Regions from separate parts of the Homo sapiens genome. Here region 2 is linked to region 1. The links are contacts of gene promoters, found by promoter capture Hi-C in blood cells and fetal thymus (Javierre and others, 2016). All regions are on one chromosome and are shown on one strand. The core of a region is centred on a gene start or on the middle of the fragment in contact, and the rest is flanking DNA. Distances in the headings are between cores, read along the strand shown.

Region 1 (6,970 bases), core at 1,762-4,261:
CAGCTAATTTTTGTATTTAGTAGAGATGGGGTTTCACCATGTTGGCGAGGCTGGTCTCAAACTCCTGACCTCAGGTGATCCACTCGCCTCAGTCTCCCAAAGTGCTGGAATTACAGGCGTGAGCCACTGCGCCCGGCCCTTTTGCTTTATTTTCTACTTTTTTTTTAATTGCTTGTTGCCTAAGACAGACCAAGATTTTTTGTTTTTGTTTTCTTCTTCTTTTTTTTTTTTTTTTTTTTTTAGATAGGGTCTGGCTGTCACCCAGGCTGTAGCGTAGTAGCGCAATCTCAGCTCACTGCAAATTCTGCCTCCTGGGCTCAAACCATCTTCCCACCTCTGCCTCCCAAGTAGCTGGGACTATATGCACAGCTAATTTTTGTATTTTTTGTAGAGATGGGGTTTCACCATCTGGCCTAGGCTGGTCTTGAACTCCTGAGCTCAAGCGATCCACCCACCTTGGTCTCCCAAAGTGCTGGGATTACAGATGTGAGCCATTGTCCCAGTCTAGATTTTTTGTTTCAATACATGAACTAAAAGCTTTAAATTTCTATTATGTCAACTATCAATTTTTTCTTTTATAGATCACGATTTTAGCGTCATATCTAAGCAAACTTTGCTTAACTTAATATCAAAAGATTTTCCTCTTTTTCTTCTGAAATTTATAGTTTTAGCTTTTATATTTAGGTCTATGATCCACTTAAATCAATTTTTATGTGTGATGTGAGGTAAGAATCAAAGTTCTTTTTTTTCCCTCCCACATCATTCATTGAAAAGATTACCCTTTCCCCATGGATTGTTTTAGCACCATTGTTGAAAATCAACTGACCATAATGTAAAGGTTTATTTGTGGACTATTTGATTCCATTGATCGATATATCTGCCTCTATGCCAGTATTACAGTCTTCATTACTGTAGCTTTATAATAAGTTTTGAATTCAGGTAGTGGAAGTTCTCCATCTTTTTCTGTTTCGAAATCCTTTTATTCTGGTTCCTTTTCATTTCATATAAATTTTAGGGCCAAACTTGCCAATTTTTTTTTTTTTTTTTTGAGACAGAGTCTTGCTCTCACCAGGCTGGAGTGCAGTGGCACGATCTCTGTCACTGCAACCTCTGCTTCCCGGGTTCAAGCGATTCTCCTGCCTCAGCTTCCTGAGTGGCTGGGATTACAGGCGCGTGCCAACACGCCCAGCTAATTTTTGTATTTTTAGTAGAGACGGGGTTTTGCCATGTTGGTCAGCCTTGTCTTGAACTCCTGATCTCAGGTGATTTGCCCTCCTTGGCCTCCCCAAGTGCTGGGATTACAGGCGTGAGCCACCGCGCCCGGAATAATGTTCTTTCTTTAAAAATACAAATTAGCAATCCCCTTAATTCCACAAAGAGGAAAAGTAAAAGAACACAGAAATGCTTGAGTTCAATTTGCTGAGACCAATAAAATGCACTTTCAAGAAAACTGCACAGCACTAGCATTGGAGGCCACAAAAATAAGATACGGACTCTATACTCAAGGAATTTATGAACAAATAAATTTTTCTGCTGGCTGAGGTACTTCTCTGACTGTTAAAGCAGGTAAAACGAAGAAATGTTCCTCCGAGACTTCCTACCTATTCTAACCTCTCAAACTTCTAATTGCAACAATGGCAGCTTTATTTTTATCTTAATATTTATGTGTTGAGGGTTCCATATAAGATTAGATTTGAATAAAGCACTGTATGCCTTTAAAAAGGTTTGAAAATCACTGGTCTAATAAAAGAACAGTGAAAACTGACAGGCAGCTATATTATAAAAAGAATACTGGATTGAGGGTTCATGATGACTGTTTTATTCTAGTTGTTGAACATGTACAGCCATGTCGAAGGAAAAGTTCTATTTCTCACCTCTCATAAAGGATGGCATTTTAAAGGTGAATTTTAATGTCATTCATCTAATAAATATTTGTTGCATGCAATAAGCACAATGTTATTCATATATTCATAGTAAAGTAATAGGGAGAAAGGAAGTACGGAATATCCTGAGGATATCAGCTGTCATCAGAGATGTAACAAGCTGGGTCTCAGAGCACAAGTTTGCCAATTGATTAAAAAGGAAAAAAAATGAGGCATCGTAGATAGAATCATAGGTCCAGAAGAACAGAATTAGAAATAGCTACCACTGAATGAACATTTCCTCCATGCATAGACTTTTATCCTCACCACACCTATGGAGATAGAAGTTATTATCCCCATGCAGACAGGGGTATGCCAAAATCACAAAACTCGTGAGTGGCAGCGCCACGTTTGAAACTGGGGTTGTCTGATTTCAAAGCCAAGGCTCTGGGTTCACAGAAGTACATGTACTTAAGAGGTGTGAAGCAACATGGGACTACTGGAAGGAGGCGGTGAGCCACGAGGCTGGAAATGCAGGCACCTGCTCTCGCTCACTTGACCATAGAGCAACTTGGGCAAAGAAGGGGTGGGCTGACATTGGAGTATGGAACAAACGCATGATTTCAAATAAGCATGTGTGTATCCATCCCAGTTCTGTCCGCTGAAAAGGCCTAGAAGCAATAACACACCAAGCCCTGTCGAATGGTGGGGTCCGCCAGGACCTCCAGGCTTGCTCCCCGCCCTACCCGCCAGCTTCTCCGCCACATTCCACTGCCGCAGCAGAACCGGTGTCCTTCACCTGCCTGCGTCTTCTGCAGTTCGTTAAGCAGCGCCCTTAGCTCCTGTGACACTTTAGGGAGAAAGCCGCAGCACCGGCGATGTTGGCCGCCATTAACGCCCGGCAAAGCGCCCGGAACTAGAAGCAGCGAAGAACCCGGGTGGGCAGCGACCGTGACAGCCGAGCCGGAAGCGGAGCTGCGGGAGGGGCCTCGACGCTCCTCCATCTTTTATTGGAGCTCACCGCTGCCAGTCGCGCTGCCTGCCCGTCCCACCCTTTTCGTGCAGGCATTCAGCTAAATGACGGGCGGAGCCCGGCGGCGGCTTCCGGTCGGGGGAAAAAAGTTGGGCCGAAGGAGGGGCCGGGAAGACGCAAGAGGAAGAAGAGAAAACGGCCGGGCGGCGGTGGCTGTAGGTTGTGCGGCTGCAGCGGCTCTTCCCTGGGCGGACGATGGACAGCCAGGGCAGGAAGGTGGTGGTGTGCGACAACGGCACCGGGGTAAGGGCCGCGCGAGGAGGCCTTGGCGGCCACAGACGCCGGCGGGGACGAGCAGCTGGCGCACGGGCCCTCGGCCCCCAGGGCTGCACCTCCGGGCCCTCGGGGCGAAGGGGCGCGGGGCGGTGCCTCCCACCTCCGCGGGCGTGGGAGCGAGCCGGCCGTTCCCTGGTCTCCCTTGAGCCTGCCACCCATTTAGCCTGCCACCCCCTCACCCTTCCGGGTGGGGGCGGCGGGCGAGACCGGCACTGGACATGGAGCCTACTGACCGCCCGGCAGGGACCTGCTCCGCGCTAATGCGGGGGCAATTGGGCTAAAGCGGACGGAAGCGTAAAAGGCTCGGTTTGTGTGTTCCGAGAAGGGCTCTTTTCCCCAGGGCCACCGGTTTGTAAAAAGGAGAAAGACCTAGAGGCCTTCCTCTTCCTGTATAGTTGAAGATACACCAAACGAGAAGCAGGAAGCGGGTTTACTTAAAAAAAAAAAAAAAAAAAGGGAAGTGCTGTCATGGAGTGTGGACCTCAGCCCTTTCGCTGTGTTTGTTGGGCTTTTTATTAGTTTTTTCGAGGGAAGGGGTCCAGATCGGCAGCGCATCGTTCACTTTTTGTTTTACATACTAGTATTTGGCCCAGGAGTAGGCCCACGGAGACCAGCATGTTCCATTGAGTGGTTTTGGGTGACCTAGGATCCCGCAAGACTCAAGTGTTAATTCCACTAGCCTTAGGGGAAGTTAATTAGTGTTGATTATCCCACCCCCAGCCCCCTTTTTTCCCTTCGTTTCAGTATACAGGTAATGTTAGCCTTTAAGATTCAAAAATTGTAAAATCTGACTAAAGCACTGATTTAGAAACTATTTGAAAATTGTTTCTGTAATCCCAGCACTTTGGGAGGCCCAGGCGGGCAGATCACCAGAGGTTAGGAGTTCGAGACCAGCCCAGCCAACGTGGTGAAACCCCGGTCTCTACTAAAAATACAAAAATTAGCCGGCCGTGGTGGTGCTTGCCTGTAATCCCAGCTACTTGGGAGGCTGAGGCAGGAGAATCCCTTGAAGCCAGGAAGCGGAGGTTGCAGTGAGCCGAGATTGCGCCACTGCACTCCAGCCTGGGCGACAAGAGTGAAACTCCGTCTCAATTATAAAAAAAAAAAATTGTTTCATTCAGACCTCCCTCTTGCCAGATTAAAAAAAAATGTATTTTGGGTAGCAAAGTCAGCAAATTAGAAGATGGAAATATTATTTATTCTGGATGACTTCTATAGTGATTTCTAACCATTTTGATGTTGCAACATTTTGTGAGTTTTCTCCCCTCCCTCCCATAAATATGATGTATGAATTAAAGTTCATTTTACTTGAACAAAACACTTTGGAATCTGAATTGTTGAGGGGGAAAAGAGCTGGTATTTACTGCCATAATACTGCCCTTGATTAGATTTGTTACACAATTTTACAAGCAATAATTATGGTAGCTTCATCTGAACTGTGTTAAAAATGGACTAGAGTAAAAAGAGTGTTAACGTACATTGAGGCCAGGCGCGGTGGCTCATGCCTGTAATCCCAGCACTTTGGGAGGTCTAGGCGGGCGGATCACCTGAAGTCAGGAGTTTGAGACCAGGCTGGCCAACATAGTGAAACCCCGTCTCTACTAAAAATACAAAAATTAGCCGGGCATGGTGGTGGGCGTCTGTAATCCCAGCTACTCGGTAGGCTGAGGCAGGAGAATCGCTTGAACCCGGTAGGCGGAGGTTGCAGTGAGCCGAGATCGCACCACTCCAGCCTGGGCGACAGAGCAAGACTCCGTCTCAAAAAAAAAAAAAAAAAAAAAGAAAAACAAAACATATTAATGTGACGGTTTTTAAGAATGTAATATTTTTAAAAAGGCAGATCCACTGCTATGGAAACGTCTAAGATTTTAAGTTGAAAAAGGTTTTAGAATGATTCAGTTTAAGTGTGTGTTCCTTATTAAAGATGTATGTCCACAAACTTGTATCCGCATATGAAAGTTTTGGAGGGATACATAAGAAATGTTCATAATGGTTACCTATGAGACAGAGGATAAGGGAGTGAGGGAAGATGGAGAGGACTTCATGACCTTTCTGAATTATTGGAAAAATGTTCTTTATTTGAACAAAGCAAGTATTATTAAACTATATTTAAACTAAATTAACCATAAACGCATGTTACATGTGCGGCTAAAATTCAGTTAAATGTGCTTTTTAAAAAAGTATTAGCCTGATTTCCACTATAGTTTCAAATTGGCCTCTAAATAAATAAAAAACTTTAAAAATTGAATTTAAAATTTTTTGTTTTGTGATTGTGTCAGATACTCTTTTTAGAAAGTCAAGCCAGTTATATTTTAATGAATTCTTTTAGGGGTTCAAGGTAATGAGCCCTGTATTTGTAGTATATATGAGTTTTTAAATATTAAATTAGAATGGGAATGTTAACCGAAGCTGATTTTTTTTTTTTTTTTTTTTTTTTTGGACACAGGATCTAGCTCTGTTGCCCAGGCTGGAGAGCGATGGCGTGATCTCGGCTCTCTGCAACCTCTGCCTCCTGGGCTCAAGCGGTTCTCCTGCTTCAGCCTCCCGAGTAGCTGGGACTACAGGCTTGTGCCACCACACCCAGTTAATTTTTTTATTTTTGTAGAGACTGGGTCTCCCTATGTTACCCAGGCTGGTCTTGAACTCCTGGGGTTAAAAGATCTGCCCACTGCGGCCTCCTAAAGTGCTAGGATTACAGGCTTGAGCCACTGCACCCTGCTGTCAGAAGCTAATGTTATGTTACTATTCCATTAGTTAGCTAACATTAGAAGGCTGATTTTAGGCTGGGCGTTGTGGCTCATGCCTGTAATCCCAGCACTTTGGGAGGCCGAGGTAGGAGGTTCACTTGAGGTCAGGAGTTTGAGACCAGCATGGCCATCATGGTGAAACCCCGTGTCTACTAAAAATACAAAAATTAGCCGGGTGTGGTTTCTGATGCCTGAAATCCCAGCTACTTGGGAGGCTGAGGCAGGAGAATTACTTGTACCTGGGAGGCAGAGGTTGCAGTGAGCCAAGATCACGCCACTGCACTCCAGCCTGGGCGACAGAGTGAGACTGTCACAAAAAAAAAAAAAAGCTGATTGTAGTATGTTATTGATTAGTCTTGTGTCTAATCCATGTTTTTAAGATTCTTTTCCTTAAGACAAGTGATCAATTCCTGTCATAAATGAAAAAAGTGAGTGTAATTAATTCAAATAAAATTTATCTGTTCTTATGCTTCTAGTTATTTTAAAATTTTATGCAGATTTTCTATGGACATGATTGGTTTCAAATGAAGAAACAGTGCTGTTAAAATACATGAATCATATAACAGGAATGCTGTAATAGTTCTGAGTATGTAGAGGACTAGGAACCGCTTAGATTGTGTATTCTGTTTCTTACCATTTGTAGACATGAATAATCATCTTGATTTTATTTAGATACCTGAAGTTATAATGATTCCTTTATAATTAAATATTAAAGAAGATATTCAGATGTAATTTTGCAAATTTATGGAAATAGTTGTTATCCTAAGGTGTTTTCATTTGCTCCTTACATGCCTTAGGTTTTAAAATTGTAGGCTGGCTGGGTGTGGTTCCTCATGCCTGTATTTCCAGCATTTTGGGAGGCCGAGGTGAGAGGATTTCTTGAGGCCAAGAGTTTGAGACTAGCCTGGGTTAGTATAACAAGACCCCATATCTAGTAAAAATAAAAATAAAATTACAGGCTTTTTAAAAAGTTACGATTCTTTTAACCTCTCTGGCAGACCCAAATTAAATATTCTAGGACAGGAGTGTCCAGTCTTTTGGCTTCCCTGGGC
Region 2 (6,970 bases), core at 2,605-5,104, 3.0 Mb after region 1:
CCTTCAATCTGGCATCATGCTATGCTGCTCATTTCCCAACTATCTCTCTGGCTATTCAATGACAAACTTCACAGGCTCCTCATCCTCTACCTGCCTTTTTACATGCACCATCTTTAGAGTTCACTCTCTTCACGTCTCATTTTATATTCTCTCTACACAGGATTTCATCCAGTTTCACGGCTTCAACTACTACCTAATATAAATGCACAGACAATGCTCAAATCTTTAATGCAAGCCCCAGATGTCTCTTATGAGCTCCAGATATAGGTAGCCAATTACCTGTTGGCCATAATCACCTAGATAACCCAAGATTACTATTCCCTGCCCACCTCCCGCCCCCCAAAACAGTCTTGCTCTGTCACCCAGGCTGGAGTGCAGTCACACAATCTTGGCTCACCACAACCTCCACCTCCCAAGCTCAAGCCATCCTCCCACCTCTGCCTCCTGAGTAGCTGGCACTACAGGCGTGTGCCACTGTGCCCGCCTAATTTTTGTATTTTTGTACAGATGGGCTTTCACCATGTTGCCCAGGCTGGTCTGGAACTCTTGAGCCCAAGATCCATCTGCCTCGGCCTCCCAAAGTGCTTGGATTGTAGGGATGAGCCACTGTGCCTAGCCCACCCATGATTCCTTTAAATTCAGCATGTGCAAAAATAAAAATTCTCATCACTCCCCCAAAACCTTCTTCTCCTACATCTCCTAGGAGAATGTGCATTTCTAACAAGGTCCCAAATGATACTGATGCTGCTAGTCCAGGATCCACTTCTTGAGAATCACTGTTCAAACACATGTGCCTCTTTCTACCTCCAGGCTATCAAGTTCTTTCTGTTTCTCCTAGGCCATGACATGTATGTAGCAGGCACTGTTAATATTTCACAGCACTCTATCCTATTGAAATTGGAGTCTTGCAACATAGCATCCCAAGCACTAATTACCAAATAATAGAAGCCTAGAGATGAAACAATAGTCATCCCAGCAAACTGGAAGTTTCTCGAGGACAGGAACAGTATTCCCCATGTATTCCTAAAACCTAACCTTAACCAAGTAGGTGCTCAACAAATATTTGCTGGGTGGATAGCATTATCCAAAGCCAGAAACCAAAGCAGAATTCACCACCTCTTTTCTTCCCCATAATCCAATAGTTACCAAGTTCTTTCTTCTACCGCCTAAATGTATCTCCTGTAGGATCCCTACTATCTATCTGCATTGTTACTGTATTCTTTCACATCCTTCTGTCTCATATAAATTACTATAATTATTTCTGAATCCTCATGTCTAGATTCATCTATCCTATTATCCACCCGGCCATCAGAATGGTCTCTTTAAAAAAGTAAATGAGACAATGTCATTCTCCTGCTTGAAAATAACTTCCCACTGCTTTTAGGAGAAAAAAGATTAACTCCTTCATGATATGCAAATCCCTCTATGATCTAGTGTCAATCCACCAGACACTACCCCCTTCCTCTCCAGCCACGCTAAACTAACACTGTAGTTCTCTGGATGGCTTGTATATCTCATGCTTCCATGACTTCGAACAGAAGCTCTCTATGTGGTGTGCCCTTCCTCACTGGCTAAATACTCATCCTTTCAAGACTCAGTTCAGACACCATTTCTTCCAGGAAACTTTAAGTGACATTCATCCCCAGTGTGGATTAAGCCTCTTCCCTGCCATGTGCTCTTACAGCATCCCATGTTTAGTCTGTTAATAGCACATAGCACACTGCATAATCACTGTCTTATTTACCCTACTTGATTAATTTCCTTGTAGATAACAATTATGTCTTAAGTACATATAGTTAGTGCTAGGTACATTAAGAGACGCTTGACTCAACTTTACACATTCCTTCCTATTCTCTAAACAGTGGTTCTCAAAGTTCAGCCTATATCACAATTACCTGGAAGACCTATAAAACTTAAGACTGCTTGGCTCATCTCCAGAATTTTGGATTCAGTTGTTCCAGGGTGGGGCCTGACAAGTTTCCAGATGATGCTGTTGCTGTTGGTTCGGGAACCATCAGTGCTCCAAATGTACATTGTCTCTTCCTCCCTTTAGGATTTAAAGTGCCTTCTTCTAGATGCCTCCAACTCTGCCTACTGCAACGCTGATCTTTTTAGACCCAGCTAGCTCAATTACCACCTCCTTCATAAAACTTTTCCTAATCCCAGGTGAAAATGATCTTGCTCCTTCTTAAATTTCTATCATGCTTTGTGTGTACTATTCATATGACACTCATCACATGCTAACTTACTTCACGGTTACTGCCATTTGTCTTACATTCTCTACTTAAATGAAGGTAGGAAACCTGCCTTAATCATTGCAATATCCTCCACAACAGAGAGCACAACAACCAGTAAACGGCAGACAAAATCTACAAGTATTTGTTGATAGGAATGAATCCCTGTTGCTTGCCCCAGACTCCAGGCCCACTGTCTGACTTAATATCCTCCTGGCCCAAGGTGACTTCCTTATACTGCCTTACTACCTATAACAGTTGCCTGATCCTTCCATACTTGTCTGTCCCTCTCATTGCTGACTGACCCTTAGTCAGCTTCTTTACTTTATACCTTGAACCATTTTAATTTTCTCATTCACTATGGGACAAAATGAGTGGATAAATTTTCTCAGGACAGATGTGAATTTTAATTCCGCTGGTCATAAGACAGGTTTTTTTTTTTCTAAAAAGTGGCCTTTGCCACAGAATCTGAACTAGAATATGTTGTGTAAAACTCTACATACAGTTATAGACGGCAATAAATTTGTTTTAAGTTCTAGATGCAGATCATGGAGATAAAAAAAAATTTAAAAGTTTAAAAGCACAAAGACATGAAAAGGCCTTTATAAAATTTAAAGTTCCCTTAAGAAACAAAACGTAAAACAATTACCTTTATATTATGTTCATTTAAGTATCCAGAACAAAATCCGTATTATCTATTTCAACAAAAACATATATAAAACACCTCGTTCAGGGGAAATTCCTAGGAGCTCACTATTTACAAGATTTTTTTTTTTAACATATAACCTTCATTCTCCCTGGACGCTTAACAATTTAAAACTCAAATAAGGGTGAAGGGAGGGAAAGACTTTAACTTTCAGGAAAAAAAAAAATAAACTACGTTTAAGGCACCAACTAAAATTAATACCTGTCAGAAAAGATCCTTGAGAGTACATTTAAATCTTATAAGCCTTTTTACTTTCCATACTTGAATTAACTAGTGATATTTCATACTGTAAATGCTGTTGACAGAATGTAAATAATAAGAGTTCTAAGAGAGATTTTCCAAAGGGTGTGAAAGTTTTCAGAATTGTATGTTCAATTAACCAGAAAAATTAACCAGATCACTCCAAAGCCTGATTTATTTGGGTTAATCGACATCCCATATGGCAAAGTTGAGTTATGGGTATGGTCTTGATACTTTCAAACCAGTACTGTATTCAGCAGACCAAAATAACCCTAAAGTTGGAAAGCCACTGCCAACATTATGTAGGTCCTGAAATGGTATTGGGAGGATGAAAGAGGAAAAAAAAAAACCCAACAGTTGAATTAGGAAATAAATACTGAAAAGGGAGCTGGGAAGAAAAGGAACATAATGACCTGGCAGGAAACAACATCGTCTGATACACCGTAAAATATTTTAAAAGACAAGAAAACAGAGTTAACAGGAAAATAAGAAATTGAAGAGCTAAAAGAGAACTTCCCAGTTTCAGTCTGTTGTTCAAAAAACAGAGGACGGGGTGCACCGCAAGAGAGTTACTATTTGGAAACCATACCACTTCGCTGTATAATATATAAACAACAAAAGGCTAGATCATTGTTCCTCAAATGTGCTGTTTATAAAGCTAAGTAAAAACATTCCCTGCAATGAACAAAGATCTTCAAGATCCTGACCTTCAAGTAAAGCATGTGCATAAGGAAATTCTATTAAAGCACTGAAATGCAATTCTTCACTTCAAAAGACTATGCCAACAAAAAGATTATATGATGAATGGCTATGATCTTCCTAAATTGTTTTGTGACTTTCAGGTGCCAAAGTTGCCTCTCTGAGCTGCCTCGCAAGTTGGCAAGGAAAAACTTTCTCTACACATCAAAATCGGCAATCATTTAAGTCTGCTCTTAATCTGGGTTTTAAGTGCACCAGTAAGCACTTACTCATTTGCCCTATATTTTAAATAAAAGCTGACTTACCTGAATATTCTAATTTCACGTTCTTCCCTTAAAATCGATTTCACCAAATCGATTTTAAGTTGTAAGCAACAGCATTCCTCCCTTCAGTAATCCACCACGTACACTGAAGCACTTAAATTCTACATACAGGGTGGGATACCATACAGTGGAAAAGATGCGAGAAATTACCCACCGTCAACCAGTTTAAGTCTTCTGACAACTGTTCAAAGACTTTTAGAGAAAGCCTAATAACTGAATCGCATGATGGAGTATCTGATATACGCGGAATAGCACTCTGAACTTTCTCTACTGTGTATACAACTCTTGATTACAAAGAGGAAACTAACGACTAGGGCTTCCCCGAGCGAGAGAACCGGTAAGGTAACAGGCTAAAAGGGCGTCGTTGATTTCTTGGCTGCAGCGACAGAGGCGGGAGACACACCCCTAGCGTCGGTCTGAAACACTACAGCAGCGAATTCTACCTAGGGATTAATGTGAGGGTAAGGAAAGACAAATTAAAATCGCCATGATTCAAAAACAACCACTCCAAGAGAGAGACACAAGAAGGTACCAAAGAAAATGAAAAAACCCTTGGTAGTAACGGAAGCATGAAAAATTAAGCGCCCCCATTTCTCCCAAACCAAGTTCGCGTATGTTTTCGTGAACAAACACCTTGGATCTTTCCGGTTCGCCAGGGCAGCGAGCAAAGCAGCAGCGAACGGAAACCCCGCAGGGCTGCGCACCGCAGCTAAACCGACGCTCGCAGGAGAGGGGAAGTGAGTGGCAGGGTTCCCTGCCAAGACTCACTGCTGGGAAACAGGCAGTGAGTGGAAGCAGCAGCAGCTCTGGAGAGTAAGTGGGTCTTATGTAAAGTGCCATTTGCCACATATTGTTATTTCCAAAGGATTTCAGAATACCCTCGAACTCGAAAAACAGAGTGAGTGTGGAGGGGAGGGGGGTGCTCCACGTGGAGGAGGGTCGCGAGAAGGAGAGTGCGCCGGGCTGATGGTCAGCGGTGCCCGCGGGGGTCGATGCCGGGCGGGACCGGCGGCGCGGGGGTGGGGCGACGGCGGGGCGGCGGCCGAGCAGCAGAGGGGCGCCCCGCAGAGGCCGGGGGCGGGCGCGGGGGCCCCGCCGCCGTCCTGTCAGCAGCCGCCCCGCCGCCCTCTCCGGCTCGCCCGCAACCGCCGCGGGACCCGCCGGGCCCGGGTCTCTGGAATTTTCCACGGGGGACAGCCGACCGGGGGCGTCGGGGCTCGCCCCCGCACCCGACCCGGACGGCGGCAGTAGGGGGAGGGATGGTGCATCGAGGAAGCCAAGGTCTCACCATTTTGCTCGGCGGGTCGGCGGCTCGCTGGCTCGCTGGCTCGGAGAAGTGTTGCGCTCAGGCTGGCTCGCAGGAAACGGCGGCGGCGGCCCAGCTGCGGCCCTCGGGTCGCCGGCGGGGAGGGGGCGCGCGTGGGGGAGGGGAGGCGGCGCCGCGGGGCCCGCGCCGGCCGGGCGATTGGGCACGCGAGGGAGCGGGCAGGGTAGGGGGAAATAAATTAAGGTCGAGATTCAGAGCCGGAGAGCGCGGGAGGAGCAGCGGCGAGAGGCAGGAGAGGCAGAGAAGAAGAAAGGAGGGGGAGAGGGGGCGAAGACGGCCGGGAAACTCGGGGGCTGCAGCCTCGCGCTCGCGCCGGAGCCGTGACGGACTCACTGCAGCGGCTCGCGCTGACCCGCAACCTCAAGGCACGAAAAAAGGGGAGGGCGGAGAGGGAGGGGAAAGCGGAGTGCTGCAGCGCGCGGGGCGGGGGCGGGGCTTCCGCGAGCGCCGCACATCCGGGAACCTGCGCGCCCCGCTGGGCGGCGAGTGCCGCGGCGCTCTGGCGAGCTCTGGTTGGGGAACGCTGAGCGCGCGGACCACGTTCGCCCCTCAGCCGGCCGCCCCTTGCGTGCAGGGTGGGGGGAGGCCAGGGGCGGGGGCGCGGACGTCGGTGACGTCGCGTGGCGGAGCCCTTCCGGTCATGTGGCTGGAGGCGGGCGGGGAAGAAGGCAAGGCTGGGAGGGGAAGGAGGAAATGCGAGGGTTCCCCGGCGGGAGGAAGCGCGAGGGGTGCGCGAGTGCTAGCGAAAGGGGGACAGGGGCCCTGGAGTGGAAGCCTTGCGGGAGAGGAGGAGCAGAGGAGCAGTCTTAGGGTGTCAGAACCACCCGGATGCCGCACCAAAAAACAGGAAAAATCCAAGTCCTGCGAGAGGCAGTCAAAGGTATCTGTGCATCCGTGTACCGACTTGGATCCACTACAGAATTGCACGGCCCATCAGGACTGCTGTCACCCCGGTGCAGCACCCGCAGGCCCATCTGTAATATGAATTGGCAGAGTCAGGAACCAGGTTGCAAAGACAGAGAAGCGAGCCAAAGCTGGCCGCAGCCCGAGGCGTGGGGAGAACCTGGGCAAACGAGGAGAAGGGATACTTCCCACTCGCAGAAAGACTTTCCACCCAGCTCTGCATTCCCATAAACCGTCCAGACTCCCCTTTGGCGGAGTCCATCAGTTTTTGTTTAAAAAAAGAAAAAAACTCGAATGTAGATTGCCCGCTTATCCTTTTAGTAGAGCTATATCCACTCCTGTGGCAATTATCTTCCCAGAAAATTCAGATTACAATAGGAAATTACATCCAGAAAAGCATAAGGAGGAAATTTATGTTCGAGAGAAGAAATAAAGCTGTCAGGAGAGGTGTGATGAGGATAACGAAGAAAACATTTTGCAACTATTTTAACCAGTTATTCCTTTACAAGCCTTGATAATCGCCCGCACTCGTGTGTGT

The links. The method cuts DNA at HindIII sites, captures the fragments that hold promoters and counts their contacts. A CHiCAGO score of 5 or more calls a contact.
Region 2: a fragment that was not itself captured here is called in contact with the fragment with the promoter of ACTR2 in region 1 in 1 of 17 cell types (M2 macrophages); the score reaches 5.0 in M2 macrophages.

Annotation. Positions count from the first base shown.
Region 1 is chr2:65,224,820-65,231,789 of GRCh38, forward strand. ACTR2 (actin related protein 2) reads left to right here and starts at 3,012. Exons shown (of 9, transcript NM_005722.4): 1 at 3,012-3,138. The coding sequence starts at 3,091. LOC124907779 (a long non-coding RNA gene) reads right to left here and starts at 2,780. Exons shown (of 2, transcript XR_007086461.1): 1 at 2,662-2,780. RefSeq lists enhancers at 2,003-2,892, 2,893-3,781, 3,854-3,943 and a silencer at 3,164-3,353. The HindIII fragment of the contact is 6,982 bases long and covers 536-6,970 here.
Region 2 is chr2:68,246,635-68,253,604 of GRCh38, forward strand. It overlaps PPP3R1 (protein phosphatase 3 regulatory subunit B, alpha), which reads right to left and starts at 5,898. Exons shown (of 6, transcript NM_000945.4): 1 at 5,491-5,898. The coding sequence starts at 5,493. It overlaps PPP3R1-AS1 (PPP3R1 and CNRIP1 antisense RNA 1), which reads left to right and starts at 4,969. Exons shown (of 2, transcript XR_001739527.2): 1 at 4,969-5,100. RefSeq lists silencers at 5,218-5,327, 5,508-5,557, 5,818-6,257 and an enhancer at 6,348-6,970. The HindIII fragment of the contact is 8,076 bases long and covers 1-6,970 here.